Regions from separate parts of the Homo sapiens genome. Here region 2 is linked to region 1. The links are contacts of gene promoters, found by promoter capture Hi-C in blood cells and fetal thymus (Javierre and others, 2016). All regions are on one chromosome and are shown on one strand. Each heading gives the region's core, a stretch centred on a gene start or on the middle of the fragment in contact. The rest is flanking DNA. Distances are from core to core; before and after follow the strand shown. Region 1 holds the start of ANKEF1 (ankyrin repeat and EF-hand domain containing 1). Region 2 overlaps TASP1 (taspase 1).

Region 1 (5,303 bases), core at 979-3,478:
AATACATCTTCTCCCCCGTCACCTTATTTTGGTATAAGCTAGTTAGCTAAGTTTCCAACATTTGCAATGAAAAGATTCCATCTTACTACAAAAGTTGAAACTATGCACCATTTTTCTCCATCGCAAGCCTGCTCCCTCACCTACATTCTCTACGGCAGTGAGCTCTCTCTCCTTTAAATGTGTCTCTCTAGGCACCACAACATCTCCATCGCCTGCTTCCATCCAACACCAATGCCCCCTCCTGCTCAGGCTCCTTTGCTGACTCCCCATTTCAAGAAGCCTATGTTGGGTGCCCAGGGCTAGGTCCTCAAGACTCTTTTCTGTCCTCACACACTCCCCTGGTGTCTCGCCCTATCCCATGACCCTCGACCCTCAGCCCAACTCTCACTCTGTCACCCAGGCTGGAGTGTAGTGGCACAATCTCGGCTCACTGCAACCTCCACCTCCTGGGTTCAAGCGATTCTCCTGCCTCAGCCTCCCGAGTAGCTGGGATTACAGGTGCCCACCACCACACCTGGCTAATTTTTGTATTTTTAGTAAAGACAGGGTTTCACCATGTTGGCCAGGCTGATCTTGAACTCTTGACCTCAGGTGATCCACCCGCCTCAGCCTCCCAAAGTGTTGGGACTACAGGCGTGAGCCACCGGGCCAGGCCTCCTTTGCCTTTTAATCTGTTTATAACATGCGGTGGACTAGGGAACCAACTGAGGCTGCCTCAGAGTCATCCACTTGGACTTTGCTGCACGGCTTGGTGACACTCACCTTAGCTGCTATTTATGGCTTGTTTTATTATTATCGGCCATATTCCGATTAGGTGCGGTGTCATCATACTGCATATGTATATGTGTCATCTATGGAATAGGGCAAGATGCTCCTACATAGGTAATGATTAGACTGAATCAATGCCACTTGATTTGTGAAAATAAGGATTTCCCAATCAGGGACTTCAATGTTGCCTCTGTTAGCACCCATCTCTAACGGAGAATTAATTAGCAGCTACAGTGATGAATTCAGTAGGTCCATGGGTCGGTTTCCTGTGGACTGCCTCCCTCCCAGCTAAAGCCCTGAAGTGCTGGGGAGAGGGCAGCACCCTGTATAGTGTCCTTCACAATCAACTGCTAAGACTGACCAAGAGCTCACCCCACTGCAGGAAATCACACAAGTGTAGCCCTTGGGTCCTGGGTTCCTTGTAAATTGAGCAGCATATAGGATCCTCCACATACAAGCACACCTGTACTTTTCCCCAGCATGACCCTGGGCCACCTTAGTCACATCTAACCATCTACCAAGGTAGTGGAATAGAGCAGAATGTCTTGACTTGAGGTCCATGTTCGGGGTCTGAATACTCGGAAATTACATGAAAATCTGTGGGAATCTGTGTGTGTTCAGGTCATTTAACTCTCAAAGGGGGGCTGTGCGACAAGGAAGGATCATTAGAAAGAGGAATGGAGGAAGACAAGCTTGGTACAGTGGAATGTAGGGTTTGAGGTGGGGAAATCCGTTGTGATCCTCCCTTCCCTGTATCATTATTTACACAAACTAGTTGGATATAAATATGGATATGCTACCTACCTAGTTTTTACCTCAGTTTCTGCATCTGTGAACTGGCAATAGCAATGGTGCCCACTTCATGGGACTGTGTGAAAAGGAAATGAGATATGATCCTTGTAAAACATTTAGCAAAGTCCTTCAATATAGGCTCCTTATGAATACACCAAACTTTTGCGGGTTTCAGCTCACCCACAAGTGTAAGCGATAGTTTACATGTTGGGGGTTCTCTACTGTGCTTTCCACTTTTTAGTCTCCAGAAAAATCTGGAGAAGAGAGGAGTGGAGGGGGTAGAGATGTAACGTCAAAGGAAAAGCCATGTGTCATGCTCACCTCTTAGTCTTCCGGGCGATCAGAAGCCAGGGATCTCTGGGCACCTATGTGCCTGGGCCTGCTGGGGCGACCGGGGAGGCCCCTGCTCTCGTCCTCTGACGCTCAGCGCTGGCCCAGCCGCGACCTTGGGCTCCCGGAGCCCGGCGGAGGCGCCCAGGCGTGAATGATGTCCCTTGGGTAGGGCTGGTGAGCTGGCGCGCGGGACAGCAGGGCTGGGTGTATGTGTCCATGGGCCCCGGGTCCCCGGAAGGCGAGCGCGCGGGCAGGTGAGCGCAGGGGGCGGGGTGGAAGCCGGAGGGACCGGGCTGATTGTGAGCTTCCGCCACGCAGGGCGCGGCTGCCGGGGCAACCGCAGCGTGCGCGGTGGGGCGGTGCTCGCCTCCGCCTCCGCCTCCGCCTCCGCCTCCGCCTCCGCCTCCGCCTCCGCCTCCGCCCCCGCCCCCGCCTCCGCCTCCGCCCCTCGCGCCTGGCTTCGACGCCAGGTGGCCGGCCTGGGCGGGATGGGGTAGCTGCGCTGGGTGTTCCAGGGCGGAGCGCAGAATGCTGCTGTCTTGAGGATTCCGCCCTTCTCTCATTCTCTTCTCCCACCTCCTGCCCTGGGTCAGAACGTAATTTAGTTATAAAATTAAAGCTGCATATGGCAATTAAAAAATGAAGTAAAATATACAATAAATATTTAGTTTACAAAGTACAATTAAATGAAAAATACAATAAATTACACAATAAAGCGAAAGTGAACCTACTCTCAACTGCCACAGATTCTTGCAAATCTTCCCAGAAATTTTCTTTCCATACTCTAGGATGCATATATGCTTAAAAAATATTTATACACAAATGGAAGCAAATATGGAGATCACTTTATTTCAGGGCCTACAAATGCACCATAACACCCCTCTCTCTCCCTCCACACATGCTTTTTGGCGGAAAATTCTGAAAGCTTTGGTTTGATTATGTGAATGTAAAACATATATATGTGTGTCTATATATATATGCTTTTTAATGCAGTATGTAATTGCTTCCAATTAAAAACAGTAATTCCTTACACCAGCCTACCCTATTCTACTCAGAGACTGTTTAAAAATGTTAAGAGCGAAGACATGGAATCAACCTAAGTGCTCATCAATGATAGACTGGCTAAAGATAATGCGGTACATATACACCATGGAATACTATGCAACCATATAAAGGAACAAAATTATGTCTTTTGCAGGAATATGGAGCTGGAGGCAATTATCCTTGGCAAGCTAACGCAGAAACAGAAAACCCAATACTGCATGTTCTCACTTATGAGTGAGAGCTAAGTGATGAGAACACATGGACACATAGAGGGGAACAGCACACACTGGGGCCTATTGGAGGGTAGAAGGTGGAGAGTGGGAGGAGGGAGAGGATCAAGAGAAATAACTAATGGGTACTAATCTTAATACCTGGGTGAGAAAATAATTTGTGCAACAAAACCACATGACACAAGTTTACCTATATAACAAATCTGCACATGTACCCCTGAACTTAAACGTCAAATAAAAAATAATAAAAATGTTATTAAGGACTATTTCATGCACACCAAAATATACTGTATGATATATGGAAAGTACATACCATACCATACCATAGCTAAAGAAATACCATAGCTAAAGAAAAAGAAAGCTAGGAAAAATAAAGGAAAAAGGAAAAGGAAAAAAAAGTCTGCCTCTACTGCTGTACTTATATGTATTTCTTCCCAACACTGCATCCTCCTCTTCCTGTTCCCAGAGATAATACCTGTTCTGAATTTTACATTTATCATCCCAGCCTCTTAAAAATGCATTGCTACATTGAATGCCTCCCTAAATAATGCATGTTTAATATTGCATATTTTGAGAATTTATAAAAATGTGGTAGAATGTTGTGTATTGTTTTGATGACTTTTTTCCTTTCAACGTCTTGTTTTTGAAATGTATCTTTGTTGGTATGTTTAATTGGAGTTCCTTTATCTAAACAGCTGTAGGCTATTCCATTATATTACCATTCCACACCCCTTTCAAATCAATTCCACTATTGATAGACATTTGGGATGTTTCCAGAATTTGCTACTAAAAGCAATACTACTAAGATCATGTTTATAAATGTCTTTGGACGCACACGTTCAAGAGTTTCACTAGAGTATATGTCTAGGAGTTAAATTTCTGGGTCATAGGTTATTTATAACATCAAGATAAAGACAACTTGTTTTCCCGACATATACAGCAATTTAGACTCCCATCAGCAGTGTGTATCTTAGCCAAAACTTGGTTTTGTCACACAAAAAACTTTCTGCCAATCTTGGTATCAATGCTCTTTTATAATTTACTTTACGTGACCTGATTACTAATTATTAATCTGTAAGTTTGATTCCTTAGAGATATTTGAGTGTAAATTTATTGTCAAACTGTGTCCAAAATTGGTGGGTTCTTGGTCTCACTGACTTCAAGAATGAAGCCAGGGACCCTCGCGGTGAGTGTTACAGCTCTTAATGTGGCGCATCTGGAGTTTGTTCCTTCTGATGTTCGGATGTGTTCGGAGTTTCTTCCTTCTGGTGGGTTCGTGGTCTCGCTGGCTCAGGAGTGAAGCTGCAGACCTTCACGGTGAGTGTTACAGCTCTTAAGGCGGCGCTTCTGGAGTTGTTGGTTCCTCCTGGTGGGCTCGTGGTCTCGCTGGCTTCAGGAGTGAAGCTGCAGACCTTCGCAGTGAGTGTTACAGCTCATAAAAGCAGTGTGGACCCCAAGAGTGAGCAGCAGCAAGATTTATTGCAAACAGTGAAAGAACAAACCTTCCACAGTGTGGAAGGGAACCCAAGCGGGTTGCCACTGCTGGCTCAGGCAGCCTGCTTTTATGCTCTTATCTGGCCCCACCCACATCCTGCTGATTGGTAGAGCCGAGTCCTCTGTTTTGACAGGGCGCTGATTGGTGCGTTTACAATCCCTGAGCTACACCCAAAGGTTCTCCATGTCCCCACCAGATTAGCTGGCTACAGAGTGTGGACACAAAGGTTCTCCAAAGCCCCACCAGAGTAGCTAGATACAGAGTGTGGCTTGGTGCGTTCACAAACACTAAGCTAGACACAGGGTGCTGATTGGTGTGTTTACAAACCTTGAGCTAGATACGGAGTGCCGATTGGTGTATTTACAATCCCTGAGCTAGACATAAAGGTTCTCCACGTCCCCACCAGACTCAGGAGCCCAGCTGGCTTCCCCCAGTGAATCCCGCACGAGAGCTGCAGGTGGAGCTGCCTGCCAGTCCCGCGCCGTGCGCCCGCACTCCTCAGCTCTTGGGTGGTCGATGGGACTGGGCGCCGTGGAGCAGGGGGTGGTGCTCATCGGGGAGGCTCGGGCGCACGGGAGCCCATGGAGGGGGTGGGAGCTCAGGCATGGCGGGCTGCAGGTCCCGAGCACCCCCCGCGCGAA
Region 2 (5,303 bases), core at 929-3,428, 3.6 Mb before region 1:
ATCTGTATAAATATTTGAATGCAACGATGTGTATATATAATTGATTTTAAATGATTTGTCTTATAAATAAAATGTTATATAATAAAAATTAAATAGACTCTTAAACCAAGAATTAAGGGAATTTAAAAATGCCAGATAACAGTGCTTGTCAGACTATCTCTGTTATAAAAGACCAGCTTTCAAAAATTTTCAATCCATTGTGGGTCAATACTTATGTAAAATACAAATAAAAAACTCCCCAAATACCACCCAAAACCAAACATTCAAACAAATTTGAAACTTAAAAATAAAAGCTCAAATTTTTGCTTGATTTAGCAGATAAAATTGTTTTAAAAAATAACATGAGGAACTAGAAAAGAATTGTGAAAACTACACATATTGATTATTGAAAATGTGCTTATAAAGCAACTAACATGAATAAAATAATACTCTCTTGTGGGCTGGTAATAAACACTGGGATGTAGAGTGTGTTCTGAGTAACCTGCTTTTTTTTATTTTGGAATAGGCAGCTAAGTAACTTCTTTATGTTTCTTTTCTTTTCTTTTTTCTTTTTGAGACTCCTTTTTTTTTTTTTTTTTTTTTTTGAGACAGAGCTTACTTTGTTGCCCAGGCTGGAGTGTAGTGGTGCGATCTCGGCTCACTGCAACTTCTGCCTCCTGAGTTCAGTGATTCTTCTGCCTCAGCCTCCTGCGTAGCTGGGATTACAGGTGTGTGCCACCACACCAGCTAAATTTTTTGTATTTTTAGTAGAGATGAGGTTTCACCATGTTGGTCAGGCTGGTCTCGAACTCCTGACCTCAGGTGATCCACCCGCCTCAGCCTCCCAAAGTGCTGGGATTACAGGTGTAAGCCACTGCGCTCGCCCCTAAGCAGGTACTATCAGTGGACAGAGAGATTTAAATTCTAACCTTTTTATATTACCCAATTAAATAATTTTATCCGACTTCAATGGGAATAAGAAAAAATAATTTTAATAAATAGCTTTGATACCTTTTTTGTATTGCTCAATTAAATAACTTAAAAATAGGATTTTTGAACATTATCTTTGCATGAATTTGTGTAAGTAACTTATGTGTTGGTGGAAAGAAATGTATACCATCTTTGCCTGTTTTCCTTTAGGGTAATTCCTCTCCTGCAATTACTTTTGGATGGAAGTATGCCCCTTTCTCAGTAGAAGATGGTAATCTTGGAGAATGACCATGGAGAAGGGGATGAGTTCTGGAGAAGGGCTGCCTTCCAGATCATCTCAGGTTTCGGCTGGTAAAATAACAGCCAAAGAGTTGGAAACAAAGCAGTCCTATAAAGAGAAACGAGGAGGCTTTGTGTTGGTGCATGCAGGTAAGCTTTGTGGATGGCTTGGAAGATGCCAATAATGTTGATTTTTCTTTTTCTGCCTTGAAGTACACTGAGAATCACATTTCACACTTGGAGGAGGCAAAACTGCCAGAGAGGAATTGGAAGCAAAGCGATTGTTTGACTTGGATATAGTGAGGACCTCCCTCTTTACTCCCCAGTTAGAAGATCTTAGAATGGCAGCTCTTCCTAGGTTTTCACTTCCCTAACCTATTATTTACTTTAACTCTATGTAATAGATGTATTTAGGTTAGGTAGTATTAAAACCAGACAAAGTAATTTTTGAACTCTGGTTTATGTTTTTTAAAAATAATGTTGCTGTGGGAGGCTGAGGCAGGAGAATTGCTTGAACCCAGGAGGTGGAGGTTGCAGTGAGCCGACATCATGCCACTGCGCTCCAGCCTGGGCAACAAACCGAGACACCATCTCAATAAAATAAAATAAAATATTGCTGAAAAAATTGTATTGATTCCCATGTGAGACTGTGGGTATCTTAGGGCATAATTATTACACAATCTTTGAGCTGGTTCACCTTCTTTTTTTTTTTTTTTTTTGAGATGGAGTTTTACTCTTGTCGCCCAGGTTGGAATGCAATGGTGTGATCTTGGCTCACTGCAGCCTCCACCTCCCAAGTTCAAGCAATTCACCTGCCTCAGCCTCTTGAGTAGCTGGGATTACAGACGTCCACCATCACGTCTGGCTAATTTTTGTATTTTTAGTAGATGGGGTTTCACCATATTGGCCAGGTGGGTCTCAAACTCCTGACCTCGGGTGATCCACCTGCCTTGGCCTCCCAAAGTGCTGGGATTACAGGCGTAAGCCACCACACCCGGCCCACCCTCTTAATATTTTAAGTGAGGAACCTTAAGACCAGAGAGATTAAGTGACTTAAGAGACTTCAGACACTGGTGGTTGGTGCTAGAGCCAGTGTAAGAAACACCTAAGTAGGCCCTTATGTCTCAGTCTAGTGCTTTTGATGCTGTGTCAGCCTGTGATCTTTCTACTTCAGAGGACCATGAGGACAGACACAGTGGAGTTCATCCCCTGGGCCTCCCATCTTTAAAAGGTCTTGGGTTGCAGAACAGTGCTGCTCTGCCCAGGTTTCCTCAGCAGGCTCTTTTTCCTTTGGCCATTTTTATTTTCTTGTATTCAGAGTCTACTTTCCATGACCTCCATGAAGAGAGAAAGAATGTCTGGGTTTCCTTTTAACTTTCCCTGGGTAGTCAAGCAAGATGACAGCAGGATTAACTTTGATATGGAATGAGGAGTAGAAATGTTTCTTCTTGTGAGACTGGTGTCCTGCCTGGCCATTAACGTTTGGCCATATCTAGACTGGACAACCCGAGAAGCCTTATGTGAATCTAATCCAGAGTATCTAAACAAATCCAAAAAACCAGAAACCAGGTTTAATCCCATTTTCTCACAGGTGCTTTTACAAGGAGGTGAGGTAAATTTACAGAAATAATCCAGTTAAAAGTAGACCTGGGACTAGAGCTTCTGCCTTCAGACTCCTAGTCTGTGTTCTTTCCACTACACTATGTTGATGGTACATCTTCCATTATCTTCCATGATACCAGTGAGTTACCGTATTCAGAGTGAGTGTTTGGAAAGTGTAAAAGAAAGGTCTGAAAGTTGTAACAAGCAATAACATAAAGCTTCAATTAGTTGGAAAGCCTTACTTTCTATAACTATTATGACCCTGTCCCTCCTGTCTTAGACACAGACTAGATGATAATGGCTCTGCCAACCTTAAATAATGGAATTCAGAAGCTATGATTAAAGGTAGAGCTTATTCATGCACAAAGCTTGAGGATGTCCACCTGGGAAACACTGACTCCAAACAAATGGGGTCTGTGTTCCAAAGTGGAGAAGTTAAGTTTTCATTTATGTAGGTAGAGATAGAAAAATTTTAGCAGGATGGTAACATTTTCCGTAGGAGACCAGTGCATAAGTTACAGCAATTTGATTGGTTATAGATTGCTACATCCTAAGGAAGATTACTTTTTACTTTGTGAGAAGGGGCAGTGATCTGAGAGGGTCTTATCTCTGGTGTTGTTTGGTCTTCCTAATTATTTACAGGAAAAAGGCAAAAGTTGCAGCTGCATGTTGTGTGACTCAGGGTGCATAGCCACATTCCTTTCAAGGCTCAGAATGATTTAATGGCTCAACTTTTTTTTTTTTTTTTAAGACTAAGTTTCGCTCTTGTTGCCCAGGCTGCAGTGGTGTGATCTTGGCTCACTCTGCAAGCTTCACAATTCTCCTGCCTCAGCCTCCTGAGTAACTGGGATTACAGGCACGTGCCACCATGCCCGGCTAATTTTTGTATGTTTAGTAGAAATGGGGTTTCACCATGTTGGCCAGGCTGCTCTCAAACTCCTGACTCAGGTGATCCACCCGCCTCGGCCTCCCAAAGTGTTGGGATTACAGGCATGAGCCACCGTGCCCAGCTGGTTCAACAGTTTTAACTTTGAATTATTTAATTTCATACTCTCAGGTAAAGGTTGGTGCTGGGGGTCAGCAAGAAGAGTAGGAACTCTGAGTTATGATAGGATATTGTGTGAATTAAGGGTGACCCTCACTTCTAAATTATTAGAAAGAGTGATTGATTATGCAAAAGCGTGTATCTTGCACATTTAAGGGTCAAAAATTCATATCCTTGTCCAGTGTAGAGCAGTTTTTTTAGCACTAGAGTAGACTTGCCCAAACTTTTGTGATTCATGTAGTAGATTCTTGATTTTTCCCACTGCCTATACTGTTTTATCTAATATTCAAACAACTAAACGCTTTTTAATCTTAACATTTGAAAAATGAAGTTTATGGTTACTTAAATGAAATAGCAGTATCACTTGCCATAAAGAGAAAATAACTTTAAACACAGTGCAAACAAAACACTGTAATTGAAGTTTAACTAGATCCTATTTGTCAGTGGCTTGGATCCTGAGCCTGCCTTTCCATTGTTAAACAGGGAAATTAGCAAGTGTTAACCAGGAATTAAAGATGTACGGGGTGGGGGGGGGGCTCTGCTGAGACTTTTATTATTTCAAAAGGATTTACATGTTAAGGCTATTAAATGCCCTTGTCCCTTACACTGAAGTCATCTTTTTGGAATAGTATCCCATGCTTTAGGAAATGCTGCTGAAAGATTGTGGCCTCTGAGATCTAAGACAGCCAACTTGAGATCACCTGTTCTTAGAGAACCATGAAGAGAGGCCTATTAAATATTGGCACAGGCTCTGTGAATGTTCAGAGTTCTCTTGAGAAACAGGTTTAGGATTTGGGTGTATTGTGGATTCTGGTGGCTTGGGCATCTCTGCTTTCCTGGCTCCTTGTACGACAGTTTCGTGGGTGAGTGCTTTCTCTACCTTGAGGAAAGGTAGGTTAGGTTTGTGTCAGAGTCTGCAGACCTGTAGGAATCCTAAGGCCTAGAGATGTAGCTTTTCTGTTTTTGTCTTTTTTAAAATGGAAAACATGTGTTTGTTTGTTTGTTTTTTGGAGTCAAAGTCTCACTCTGTTGCGTAGGCTGGAGTGCAGTGGCATGATCTTGGTTCACTGCAACCTCTGCCTCCCAGGTTCAAGCTATTCCCGTGCCCCAGCCCCCTGAGTAGCTGGGATTACAGGCATGTGCCACCATGCTTGGCTACTTTTTTTGTATTTTTAGGAGAGATGGGGTTTCTCCATGTTGGCCAGGCTGGTCTCAAACACCTGGCCTCAAGTGATCCTCCCGCCTCAGCCTCCCAAAGTGCTGGGATTGCAGGCATGAGCCACTGTGTTTGGCCTAGAGGTGTATTTCTTAACCTTCCATACATTGGACCCCTATGGGGCTTTAGGGGTGGGTAGGGATAGGTGGTTCAGTGCTCCATTAATGAACTTTGATTAGAGAGAGGCCTAATTAAGAGAGTTTAAGGGCTCTTGTCTTTGTTTCCTTCTTGTTTAGATTATTCTTAAGTCCC

What was found. Contacts are between HindIII fragments. The CHiCAGO score rates a contact against its expected background, and 5 or more counts as called.
Region 2: a contact is called between a fragment that was not itself captured here and the fragment with the promoter of ANKEF1 in region 1, in 1 of 17 cell types (naive CD8 T cells). The highest score is 5.4, in naive CD8 T cells.

The regions. Positions count from the first base shown.
Region 1 is chr20:10,031,912-10,037,214 of GRCh38, reverse strand. ANKEF1 (ankyrin repeat and EF-hand domain containing 1) reads right to left here and starts at 2,228. Exons shown (of 11, transcript NM_022096.6): 1 at 1,882-2,228; 2 at 1,573-1,636. The region is part of intron 3 of SNAP25-AS1 (SNAP25 antisense RNA 1); the gene reads left to right. RefSeq lists a silencer at 1,888-2,437. The HindIII fragment of the contact is 1,358 bases long and covers 1,463-2,820 here.
Region 2 is chr20:13,625,969-13,631,271 of GRCh38, reverse strand. It overlaps TASP1 (taspase 1), which reads left to right. Exons shown (of 14, transcript NM_017714.3): 2 at 1,120-1,338. The coding sequence starts at 1,194. Among named protein-coding and RNA genes, the nearest start is that of TASP1, 10 kb to the left of the region's middle. RefSeq lists a silencer at 4,176-4,470. The HindIII fragment of the contact is 1,665 bases long and covers 1,346-3,010 here.